Regions from separate parts of the Homo sapiens genome. Here regions 1, 2 and 3 are each linked to region 4. The links are contacts of gene promoters, found by promoter capture Hi-C in blood cells and fetal thymus (Javierre and others, 2016). All regions are on one chromosome and are shown on one strand. The core of a region is centred on a gene start or on the middle of the fragment in contact, and the rest is flanking DNA. Distances in the headings are between cores, read along the strand shown. Region 1 has its middle 22 kb from the start of LINC00899. Region 2 overlaps LOC124905135 (collagen alpha-1(III) chain-like). Region 3 has its middle 12 kb from the start of MIRLET7B. Region 4 holds the start of PKDREJ (polycystin family receptor for egg jelly).

Region 1 (2,861 bases), core at 329-2,828, 240 kb before region 4:
TCGTGTTTTAAGAACTTACAGATCTTGCTGCTGGCTGCCACCTTGAAGGGAACTCTGTGGCAGACTAGACATCATCAAAGACTCACATGCACATGTGAGGGAGGCAAGGGGTGGACTACACCAGGCCCCTCTTGTGCTCCACTTCAAGGTCCTCTCAACCCCAACTCCAGCCATTCCCACCACAGCCGGTCTTACAGTGGCTTCATCCAGCTTCATGTGGGTGCCAGCAGCCAGACAGTGCCTTGCCTTGGGCCCATGCTGGAGATCTCTTGCTTCCTGTCCAGGTGCTTCTCTGAATATGCGACTTAGTGGTCCTGGTGGAGCCCTCTGCAGTCACACTCGTGCAACATGGGAATGCTGGAAGTTAATGTCTACAGAACCACCTTGACTGGTGGCAAGTTGAGCTGATGGAGAAATGCTCTCTTTCTTCTCACAGGTGGTCAGTTCTGAGATATATTTCATGAGATCCCCCAGAAACCCCCGTCAGGAGCAGGTATGAGCCTCCTGCAGCTGTGACTGACTCAGTGAAACGTCCTTGTATTGGTTTTCCCAGGAATCTCATTTCCAGCTGAAATGTCTGCAGACAAGTCTTTGTCTCAAGCTTTGCTTCCAAGGAAACCAGACTATGGTACGCGCCATTGTGGAAAGACAGAGTACAAAAAAATGAACTCACAAATTTAAATTAACTATAATAAGTGTTATGGAGAAATAATACAGGGTGATGTAATGGGAGTATAACTGTGAATCTGTGCCATCTAATATGGTAGCCACTAGCCACGTGTTAGTATTTAAATATAAATGCAGGCTGGGCGCGGGGCAGTGGCTCACACCTGTAATCCCAACAGTTTGGGAGGCCAAGGTAGGTGAATCATTTGAGGTCAGGAGTTCAAGACCAGCCTGGCCAACATGGTGAAACCCCATCTCTACTAAAAATAAAAAAATTAGCTGGGTGGTGGTGACGCGCACCTGTAATCCCAGCCACTTGGGAGGTTGAGGCAGGAGAATCACTTGAGCCTGGGAGGCGGAGGTTGCGGTGAGCCAAGATCACACCACTGCACTCCAGTCTGGGCAACAGAGTGAGACCCTGTCTCAAAAATAAATAAATATAAATGCAAATTAATTAAAATTAAATGAAATTTAAAATTCAGCTCCTGGGTCACACGAGCCACATTTCAAGTATTTAACAGTCCCATGCATTTAGTAGCTGTCTCACTAGAAAGTCCAGATATGGAACATTTCAAGCACACAGAAATGTCTGTTGGACAGTACTGCTCTGATTTAGCCAATGCCTGCTGCTTTGTACTAGATTGTAAGCACAGAATAACAGAGTCGATATCTGTCTAATTTTACTTTCTGTCTCTAGAAAGTAGCACAGACACCAGCACAGAAGCAGACAGTAATCAAGTTTACAGAAAGAAGGCAGGAAGGGAGAGAGAGAGAGACAGGAGAGATGAAGAAGGAGGAGAAGAAAGGAGGAAGGGAAGGAAGGAGGAAAAGGAGGGGAAGGGAAGGGAAGAGAAGGGAAGGGAAGGGAAGAAAGGAAGGAAGAAAAGGAGGGAGAGAGGGAGGGAATAAGGCAGAAAGGAAGCCCCCAGCCCATCCACATGGAGCAGTTTGCAGTTTGGGACCTCAGGCCTGGCGAACAGAAGTACAGAGCACAGGTCAAAACAGCCTGGGTGTGGAGGGAGGGAGACTCCAGGATGCTAGCGTTTACTAAGCACTTACTATGTGCCCGGCACCGTCCTAATTCCTAATTCCCTGCAGTTTCCACATTACACCCTACGATTGTTATCCGATTTCACACAGAAGGAAACTGAGGCTGGAGAGGTGAAACAGCTTGTCTAGGCACACGGGACCATGAGTAGCAAGCCAGGGTCAAGCCAGGCAGGCGGCTCCAGGGCTGGTTCCTTCCCCTCGCACCACTGAGGTCAAAGGTGGGAGGATGCCGTGAAACAGAGGCCGAGTGTCCACACTCCCTTCCTTCTCTCCTGGGCCCGGAAACCTCTAAGACTTTGCCAATACCCTCTGGTCAGCCCCCACCAGCCCTGGCAGCTGCCCACTGAGCCAGCCCCTCTGCCCAAGGCCCCTCCCTGGGGCGATGGCAGCCAAGGGGGCAAGTCACATGGCTGCCAGCTGGAGCCCAGGCGGCCGATCCACACAGGAGCCCTGTCCGTGATGTCAGCACCACCAAAGCATCCTCATTAACCGCCCCCTGGGTGACGCAGCCCAGCTTTTCTGCGTGGGATGGGTGGGGGACTCACTGAGACCCAGGTGTTCGCAAGAAGCCAGGATGGAAAGTATGACTCGCTCCTTCCCAAACATGGGATGGCTTTTCCATTGCTAATATCCGAGGAATCCGGTGAAGTAGTGGAAAGACCGAGAAGGCGGGAGACTGGTTCTCACCCTGGCCCATCCTGGCTTTAGACCAGAAGCCCAGAGCCTCAGTCTCCCCTTCTGTCCACCAGAAACCACAGCCCTGTCCAGCTCCGACTCTCCAAGGTGCCCAGGTGTCAGTGAGGCTGACAACACAGCAGTCACCTCGGGGCTGCAGCCTTTTAAGCTTTTGTTTGTTTTCCAAGCATGTCTTTGGGAGTGAAGATCCATCAATCATGACATAAATTTCATTTCAGAAGTTATATTTTACTAGTAGGAGTACAAAGGACTCAAGAATTCAGAACTGGATCTCCCTCCCAGACACCCTCAGGATGTCCCAGCCTTGCCTCTGGAACAGCCAGACTTCCAGCAAAATGAGGACCCGGAAGCTGTGCTGCGGCCACCAGTACTGACTGTGCTTCAGGCTTGCTTGCTCCTCACCCACCCTGGGAGGTTGGTACTGCTGTTATTTCCATTTTACAGCGATT
Region 2 (3,132 bases), core at 252-2,751, 200 kb before region 4:
CTACTGAAATTATATCTTAAATATCTGTCTTTATATTTTATTCTTAAATTGCGTATAATTTACACTTTCCTGTGCCTTCATTAAACACGTGGTATATTTATAATCAGGGAAAAACTATTTTTAAAGACTCATTATAGGAAGATAGACAAATAGAGACAAATGGCATGCTTTCTTTCAGTCATTGGGGATGGATGATACACGTAGCAGAAGTATTCGTTAGACCAACAAATAGGAATAGTAAGTCAATATTGTTCTTTCTTTAATAAAAGATTTATATGTTGGTAGCTTATTAATCCAATACTATGTGAGTTTTCTAACCAAACACATATACTTGTACGCCAGGGCAGAAAAATCTCAATTAAGATTTTGTGTGGACTCGGGAAGTGTTTTTGTTCCCTAAACAATAGCCTTAAGAAGGGTGGAAAAAGGCCCGTCTTCTTCTTGGATCCTTGGTTGGGTGACAACCCTCCGGTGGTGAGACATGGTGCCTGATTTTCAGTTGGGGCTTTCTGCTTCCCCTGTTTGGTTTTCTAGGGACAATTTAAAAGATTCTGCAAGTTAATTACTGGAGAAGTCCGTAGATCCTGGATTCATAGTATCAGATTAATTGTGGTCTTTGAGTGGGAATCCTAGTGGTTTATTTAGACTCATCAGTTGTCTTATTCTTTTTTTTAAAAAGAAAGAAAACATTTATTTTCGTAAGCTTGTATTGCCCTTAAAATATTTCTCTGCACTCTTAGGTCACCTGCCTATTCACGCCAGGAGCGCATCGCTTGCGTTAAGAGACTAGAAGTTTCTTTCTTAACCATAATGTGCCAGGATTTTGTTATACGGAAAAATCTGTCCGTGTTTCCAACTAATATTTCCTAGCCTTCAGGCAAGTGCGACTTGCTTCACTGTAAAATGGATTCCCAGGACCTGCCGTATCGGGACGGGCAGAATTCTTTAAAATGCAGTGCCCCGGGCAACCCCATCACTTCCCGGCTGGCTCCGGGCGGTCCCGGGCTGCCCGCCGGCCGCAGAGCCCCCTCTCCCGGGCCCGCCCGGCCGGAGCCTCAGTTTCCCCGGCAGAGCGGGGCGGAGGCGAGGCTGGGGACGCTCGGGCGGCGGGGAAGGGGCCGACTCGGCCAGGCGCGCCCGGCTGGGAGGTCCCGCGGGCCCTGGAGCCTCCCGCAGCCCGCCTGGGCCTCCGGGGCGCGACCCCCTAATCCGCTTTAGTCAATATCTTATGAGCTCCGCTTGGGCAAAGTAAACAGGCGCCGAACAAAGCGGCGGCCGCAGCCCGCGACTCCTGACCCCGGGGTCGCGCCCTTTGTTCGCCCTCAATGGGGCAGCCCCGCCGCCCGGCCTGCGGCTAATTGGGGCGCGTGCCGCCGCCTCTGCCCGGACCGCACCCTGGACTCTGCCTGGGACGCGCCCTCGGACGCAGGCCCCGGACCCGCCCGCCAACTCCGACCCGACCCCGGCCTGGGACCCCGGCTCGAACCCTCGTCCCTGCCCAGGCGGACCCCGGCCCCGGCCCGGACCCTCTGCAGCGGCTCCGGGCCCAGGCTCCGACTCCAGGCCTCGGTTCGAACCCTGGGGACCCGCCCCGCCCCGCTGCAGACCGGCCTCCCCGCCCGCCGCGGACCCCGAGCCTCAGGCCTGGTGCCGGACTCGGCCCTGCCTCGCGTGCCCGCCCTGGGGCTGCCTGGAGGAGGCGCACCGAGGCCTCCCTGCCTTCAGAGCCGCTGCGGGCCTGGGCCCTGTGTCCCCCCAGGTCCGCAGCTGGCCGGCTGAAACTGGCCCGCACCTCCCGCCCCGGGGCCGGGTGCTCCTGGTCCGCGCAAGGTCCCCACGCACTCCCGCGGCCACGTGGGTGCCTGTCCCCTGGAGCGGGGTTGGGGGAGGCCGCAGAGACACTGCTCCCGGGGTCCCTGTGCAGGCCCCGTAAGGATTTCAGACAGCCGTGATGCAGAGGAGACGTGTATTAGTTCTTGTTTTTCTTTTTCTGCTCTTTATTTCTGCTTGGAAGCCTGTCACACGGGAAAGAAAAGACGCTCCATCTATGCGAACCCCACTCCCCTGGTGAGGGAAGCCGGAACCCTTCAGACCCTCTGCACGTGGGCTCCCTCCCCGACAACCTCTTTTTCCTCCACATCACAACCTTTCCAGCACCTGGGAACGGTTCTAGGCCAGAGGAGGATGCTGAGGCCATGAATGCATCCGTTGACACGAAATTCAGGCCTTGACCATTTCACGTCTTTCTGTTCTTCGTTTTTTCCTCAAATGTTGGACAAGGTTATAATGTTTATCCCAAGAAGCTTTTGAGACTTAGCACTTGTAATTTTCGTAAGGGTTCTGTTTGATTTTTAAAAAGGTACTTTCTTTTGTAATTAGGTGCAAAAAGGAAAGCACAGAAAGGACTCTTCTTGAAAGCCTTTGCCTCCAAAGATGAGCAGAAAGGCTTCCAGTTCCTGGCACCGCCAGGCAAGGCCCTCTACCTGATTCTCACTTATTTCAGTTTTGTTCACCAGCTGTAAATACTGCTAGGCTTTGCCAGGAAGACTTTTTTTTTTTTATGTTGAGTTTGTTTTTGAGCTTGTTGATTGCACGGTGGAATATTCTAACGTGGAATTTGGCTTTGGGAAGACTTGGTGTTCAGGAGTTGTCGGATATGCCCTGCTGTTGTGAGGATGGAGCTGGGTAGGGGTCCTGCCGTGGGCCATGAGTGGGGGTAGGCAGGTGTGGCCGTCACCTTCTGGGTGTGCGGTGCAGATCTCCACCTGGGAAGGAAAGCCCTTGGGAGACATGCCTTGTGATTCTTGCCTTTCATAGAATGACTGCCAAATAGCCCGGTGCCTCTTTACTCGCCTGCCTCGTTCCTGTGCATCCCTCCTGAGGTCACCACTTCTATGTAGCCTTTCTCCTTTCTGAGGAGCAATAATCCAATCTGATCAGTGTAAGTTTGCCTCCGTGGAATGCTGATGCCCAGGCTGGGGACCCCCGCCACCCCTCTCTCAGCAGTGCTTGCAGGCATGAGATGGTGAGGGTTCTCAAAGGCTGTCCTCAACACTGATCGGCCTTTGATATTGAGACCATGGGGCAGCTGCCTGCCAGGTTCACAGAGGGCTGTAAGCAGGGATGAGGCTT
Region 3 (2,974 bases), core at 193-2,692, 140 kb before region 4:
CTTCCATCCTGTCACCCCATCCCACCTGCCAGCTTCTGCTCACACCAACACCAGGCCTGGTGTTATGCAGGGCTGCCTCACAGACTGTGACATCTGACCTCCCCAACTTAATGATGAGGAAACTGAGGTGAAGGGAGGCAGAGAAACCTTCCCAAGGTCCCACAGCCTAGAAGATGCCCGTCAGGAGCGCCCGAGGCCCCGACACACTTGCACAAACAGGCACACCCAGCCTCACCTCCACCAGCCCCAGAGGCTTCCTGGCCACTGGCTGTCCTCTGTGCCCCTGTACTTGTACCCAGACATCCCCAAGTCCTGGCATCATGGGCACTTGTGGATAGCTGGAGGCGGAGGGGCTCGTGGCCCGGTGCAGCCTTGACTGCAGACTGGCCGTGACAGAATGACCATTGCCTCAAGCGATCAGCGTGGTGGTGCAGCCCTCAAAACTCTTATCTCCTTCAACACATGGCATGGGCCAGGAACAGTTCAGTCAAGGGAGGAATGCCCAGGGCCTTGGGAGCATGGGATAGGAGGGAGGACCCAGACAGTGTGGGGTGAGGGGAAGGCAAGGGGGATGAGCTCATGGAGAACTTCCTGGGGCACGGAAGTCCTGAGTTGGGTTTTGCAGGATGAGTAGGAGTTTGCCAGAGTAGGAAAAGCAGTGAGAAGCCCCAAATCCACACTCTGTGACTGTGTGTTTGTCATGGAGCCTGTGAGTGTTGCTATGTGGTATACTGATGGGATGGGAGGGCAACAGACTCTGTGGGCACCAGGGAGCACCCACCCCTGAAGAAGCAAGTCCTTCCTAGAGTCAGACACGGAATTTGTGGGGAAGCATTAGTTTCAGGGGATAGAAACCCAAACCAAATTAGCGCAGGCCCAGAAGAGGATTTATTTGTTTATATAACATAAAAATCCAGGAATTGGTACAGCTTCAGGCGTGGCTGGATCGAAGGGTGCTTCCCCTCAGGGCTTCTACCACACGGGCCCCAGCCTCAGCAGGGTCCCCATGAGGCAGTAGAGCCTGCCGTTCCTCCATCCCGCTAGCTCCCACCAGTGCAAAGCTCTCTCTCCCCCTTTCCAAACAACCCCACAAAAGTTGCCAGGTAACCTCTGGCTGGCGGGGCTTTGGGTCAAATGCTCAGCCCTGAGCCAATGACTGAGGGTTCCCACTGGAGGGGCAGTGGGAGAGACAGGGGACACCCAGTGGGTGGAGCCGGCAGCTGCTCCTGGGGCTCACCGTGGAGTCCAGTGGAACGGGCACCATGCAGCAGGCTCCTTGGAGCAACCTAGAGCTGTGGAGAAGCAAGATGGCACCTGTGGCTTGGTGGGCTGGAGATTCACCTTCTGTCCCCAGAGCCAAGGACAAGCTCGTCTGAACACAGCCTCACCAGGGCTCAGCTCTGCATGGGGGCTGAGGGTCAGGTCTACGGCCCCACTGGCCAGAGTGTTGGGAAGGGGACAGCACCCACTGCAAGGCCAGGCCAGCGTGGACCTGGCAGTGACCCCTGGGCGGGCCATGTGCCCTCCCACCTGTCTCAGAGTATCGCCTGAGAGTGGCGTCTTCCACCCTCTGACCGCCATGGCTCCACAGGCAGCCCGCAAGAGCCTCCAGCCTCTGGCAGCCCTGGACCAGACCTTGGTAACACCTGCCCCATTCTACACAGCCGAACCAAGGCACTGAGCGCTCAGGAGCCCAGAGGAAGCCTGGTGGCTGTGAGCCGGGCCGGCTGGCTCATTCAGCCCAGGCCCCACCCGCCCTGGGATGATCTGGACCCCGGCCCTGCTCTCAGCTCTCAATGCTCCCTTCCCAGATGAGCCAAGACGTCCCATGCAGACGGACACCTTCCCCAAGTGCCCGTCCCGGCGCTGCACAGCCCACGCCCTGCTGTCCCGGGGAGCAGCATCTTCCACCAGGCTCAGTGTCCTCTCTTGGGGGCACTGGAAGGGCTGGGCAGGCTGCAGCTGGCCCTGGCCCAGAAGGGGCCAGGAGAATGTTCCAGTCTTGAGGCTCACAGCAGGTAGGACAGAGGCTCGGTGGCACCAGCCCACACACCCCTGGCCGCGGTGCTCACTGCTGCCCCGCAGCCATGCTCCCGGCCCCTGGTTCTGCTGTCACTCCCTGTGTGATCTCAGGGTGTGTTGTCACCAGCCACACCCTGAGATCCATTCTGAACCTCTCCATGGAAGGCTGGGTTGGAGGGGTGACGGCACAAGGCCTTCCACAAGGCAGGCGCCCAAGTCACATGTGGGGCTCAGCCCAGCCCCACAGACAAGAGGCGTGTCTGTGACCCATGAGTTCAGAACCTCGTCGTGTGCCCTGGGCCGCCGCCCCAGGAGAAAGGTCAGGAGTGTTTTGCAGAGACCTGCCCGGAAAGGCTGGAGCTCGGCACAGGCTGCTCCTCCCTGCCCAGGGGCCCCTCCCCCGAGGTTCCCCCACCCCCACCTTGGCATCTCAGTGCCACCACACTGAGTGACACACCAGTGAGTCTCAGAAGAGCCCTGTACAGACAATGAGACCCACAAGTACACAGATGACGACTGCCATGTGGCTGCCAGAGAGAGCCACGCTGTGGGTCTGGCCGGAACCTCTTTCCTTTGTGCACCTGTGCCCAGCCCATGCACAACGCAGAGCTGACACCAAGTGAGCATCTGTCACTAAGTGAGGCAGGCAAATGAGGTAACACTCAATCTGGGCTTTGAAGGATGAGTAGGAGTTCCCGGAGGAGAAAAAGAGAGGCCCTTCCCAAGTGGAGGACGCAACAGGCGCAGAGGCCTGAAGGTGGCGGGAGCTCTGTGTATCCTCCTGCTGCCCACCCTCTGCATGGGCTGGCACGGGCCGGGGGATGGGCTGAAGAGGTTGTGGCCCCTCCACCTGAAGGAAGAAGCAGGTCCTGGTCTACCAGGACCAGTGTCCACTCCTCCCGGCCCCTGCTCTGGCCTTGCAGTCTGTCCCCTGTCCTGGCTCCCCAGCACA
Region 4 (3,082 bases), core at 133-2,632:
TGGTCCTTGGAGCACGTGGACCCTCTTATCAGAAAACGCTGTCCTAGAGTCCTTCCGAATCACCATTCTGAAGAAATACACGTGGTCGCCTTTAAGTGTTTCTGGCAAAAGTGTCAGTACAGGGCCCGAGGCCCAGGGCCATTTCAGATTGGCCTGCTCGGGGTGACAGACTTCCTTGCTCCCCAGGATTATTCGATCCCCACCGTAGTTTCTGGGATCTGTGGTACAGTACCAAAAGAACTGGAGTCCCTGTAACGGGCTGTCCGCATCTGGGTCCGAGGACGTGGACCCGTCCAGAATCAGCTGCTCTGTGAAATTAGCTGTTATGTTGGCATCGCCAAGCATCACCGCCTGCAGGGAACTCCTGACGATCCAGACATAGACGGCGTCCGAGTCTTTCACCTCGGGCATCTTGGGGTTCCCTGTGGTGATGGACACCGTGAAATTAAACACATACACTCCCCACTGTAACGAATTATTGGGGATGTGAATGAACAAGGGGCTGTTCCTGATCTCGAGCTGGGGCAGATCCAAGGGCTGCGTCCAGTCGGGCGCCTGACCCACGGCGGGCACGGAGAACACCTGCCAGTACTGGGCGATGGCGCGCGCGGCCGGGCAGTCCAGCTGCACCGAGGCGTTGATGGTGGCCTCCGCCTGCATGCTCAGGCGCACGGGGGCGCCCTTCTGGTCCGTGTTGATCCTCACGCGCTGGATGACGCAGGCGTTTATCTGACAGGACACGGACGACTCGACGGCTCTGTGGCTGGACGAGTTGACGGCCTGCAACATCACGCGCGCGGGGCCGTCTGTGGGGCACTCGGTGCGGGCCACGAAGCCCTGCTGGGGCCGCGGGCCTGGCGCGGCGGAGCGCGGGGAGACGCGGGCCGCGGGGGAGGCCGGGCGGGCGGCGCCGGGTCCGAGCAGCCGCAGGCGGAAGGCCCAGGCCAGGCGCCCGGGCGAGCGCGGCAGCCGCACGGACCACGTCAGGGAGAGGCGGCCGCCGCGCGCGGAGAGCTGCAGGTCGACGAGCGCGAGCGCGGGCGCGGCCGGCCAGGGCAGGCGTTGGGCGCTGAGCAGGACGCGCAAGTCGAGGCAGTACCAGCGCCGCCCGGTCCCGCCATGGGGGAAGCAGAGGCTGCCGCGGCCGCTCAGGACAGCGCCGCCCGCCCGCACCGCGCTGGGCCGCAGACTGAGGAGGGCGCGGCCGCCGCGCACCCCGAGGCCCGGGGCGCCCCTGAGGAGGCCACCGGGCGCCCCGGAGACGGCGGCTTGTGCCCCGCGAGGAACCGGCGGCAGCGGGAGGCGGCCGACGCTCAGGCTCAGGCCCACGCCCAGAAGGAGGAGAGCGGGCCCAGGCCTCATGGCGCCGGCCCAGGAGAAGCTGGGAGAGGCCGCGAGGCGCGCCCAACCGCCACCGGGGTCGCGGGGATAGTGAGGGTCTTGGGGACAGTGGGGGTCTCGGGCGTCGAAGGGCGCTGGCAGAGGGGTCCCAGGGACAGAGTCCCAGAGAGCAGCTGGGACCTCGGAGCTTGGGGTCAGTCGGCACTGGGGACTTCTTGGGTACCTCTTCCCTCTCCGTCCCCAAGTGTGTGCAGGCCCAGGGTCAGGATGGCTCAGGAGGGCAGTTCAGCCCCGTGCAGACCACAGAGCTGACCACGGAGAAGGGGCTTCAGCAGGAACCCTTGGGAAAGCCAGTCACAAAATGGGAGATCAGGAGGGAACCGTGAGATCCCTGGGCGCCCAGGAAGGTCTGACTCTCGGTTTCTTACTTTGGGGTCGCTTTGCTCTTTTCTTTCTAGTTGGTTTGGGGGTTTTGTTTTTTGTTTGTTTGTTTGTTTGTTTGTTTTTTGAGACGGAGTCTCTGTCACCCAGGCTGGAGTGCAATGGCTTGACCTCAAGTGATCCACCCACCTCGGCCTCCCAAAGTGCTGGGATTACAGGCATGAGCCACTGTGCCTGGCCTCATTCTTTAACTCTGTCCATTTTTGCTGTATATTTTGGGACTTGATTGATGGATTGAATGATTTTAGAGACAGGGTCTTGCTCTGTTGCCCAGGCTGGAGTGCAATGGTGCAATCATAGCTGACTGTAACCTTGAACTCCTGGGCTCAAGGAATCCTCCTGCCTCAGCCTCCCATACTACAGGTCTACACCACTACACCTGACTGATTTATTTTTTATTTTTGTAGAGATGGTGTCTTGCTGTGTTTCACAGGCTGGTCTCAAACTCGTGGTCTTAATTGGCCCTCCCCTGTATTAGTCCGTTTTCATGCTGCTGATAAAGACATAACCAAGACTGGGAAGAAAAAGAGGTTTAATTGGACTTACAGTTCCATATGGCTGGGGAGGCCTCAGAATCATGGCAGGAGGCAAAAAGCACTTCTTGCATGGCAGTGGCAAGAGAAAATGAGGAAGACGCAAAAGCGGAAACCCCTGATAAAAGCATCAGATCTCCTGAGACTTATTCACTACCACAGAACAATATGGGGGAAACTGCCCCTGTGATTCAGTTATCTCCCACCCGGTCCCTCCCACAACATGTGGGAATTATGGGACTATAAGATGAGATTTGGGTGGGGACACAGAGCCAAACTATATCATTCCACCCCTGCCAAATCTCATCTCCTCACATTTCAAAACCAATCATGCCTTCCCAACAGTCCTCCAAAGTCTTAACTCATTTCACATTAACTCAAAAGTCCACAGTCCAAAGTCCTGTCTGAGACAAAGGAAGTCGCTTATGCTTATGAGCCTGTAAAATCAAAAGCAACTGGCTGGGCGCAGTGGCTCACCCTGTAATCCCAGCACTTCGGGAGGCTGAAGCGGGCAGATCACCTGAGCTTGGGAGTTTGAGACCAGCCTGACCAACATGGAGAAACCCCATCTCTACTAAAAATACAAAATTAGCCGGGTGTGGTGGTGCATGCCTGTAATCCCAGCTACTCGGGAGGCTGAGGCAGGAGAATCGCTTGAACCCGGGAAGCAGAGGTTGCGGTGAGCCAAGATCGTGTCATTGCACTCCAGCCTGGGCAACAGGAACGAAACTCTGTCTCAAAAAACAGAAAAAAAATCAAAAGCAAGT

Evidence for each region. Contacts are between HindIII fragments. The CHiCAGO score rates a contact against its expected background, and 5 or more counts as called.
Region 1: a fragment that was not itself captured here is called in contact with the fragment with the promoter of PKDREJ in region 4 in 1 of 17 cell types (neutrophils); the score reaches 5.6 in neutrophils.
Region 2: a fragment that was not itself captured here is called in contact with the fragment with the promoter of PKDREJ in region 4 in 1 of 17 cell types (neutrophils); the score reaches 7.1 in neutrophils.
Region 3: a contact is called between a fragment that was not itself captured here and the fragment with the promoter of PKDREJ in region 4, in 8 of 17 cell types (erythroblasts, megakaryocytes, M0 macrophages and 5 more). The highest score is 15.0, in erythroblasts.

What each region holds. Positions count from the first base shown.
Region 1 is chr22:46,021,570-46,024,430 of GRCh38, forward strand. No RefSeq gene overlaps it. Among named protein-coding and RNA genes, the nearest start is that of LINC00899, 22 kb to the right of the region's middle. The HindIII fragment of the contact is 1,959 bases long and covers 600-2,558 here.
Region 2 is chr22:46,060,294-46,063,425 of GRCh38, forward strand. The region is part of intron 1 of LOC124905135 (collagen alpha-1(III) chain-like); the gene reads left to right. Among named protein-coding and RNA genes, the nearest start is that of PRR34, 7.6 kb to the left of the region's middle. The HindIII fragment of the contact is 1,600 bases long and covers 702-2,301 here.
Region 3 is chr22:46,124,323-46,127,296 of GRCh38, forward strand. No RefSeq gene overlaps it. Among named protein-coding and RNA genes, the nearest start is that of MIRLET7B, 12 kb to the left of the region's middle. The HindIII fragment of the contact is 6,464 bases long and covers 1-2,974 here.
Region 4 is chr22:46,261,961-46,265,042 of GRCh38, forward strand. PKDREJ (polycystin family receptor for egg jelly) reads right to left here and starts at 1,383. Exons shown (of 1, transcript NM_006071.2): 1 at 1-1,383. The coding sequence starts at 1,362. The HindIII fragment of the contact is 7,014 bases long and covers 1-3,082 here.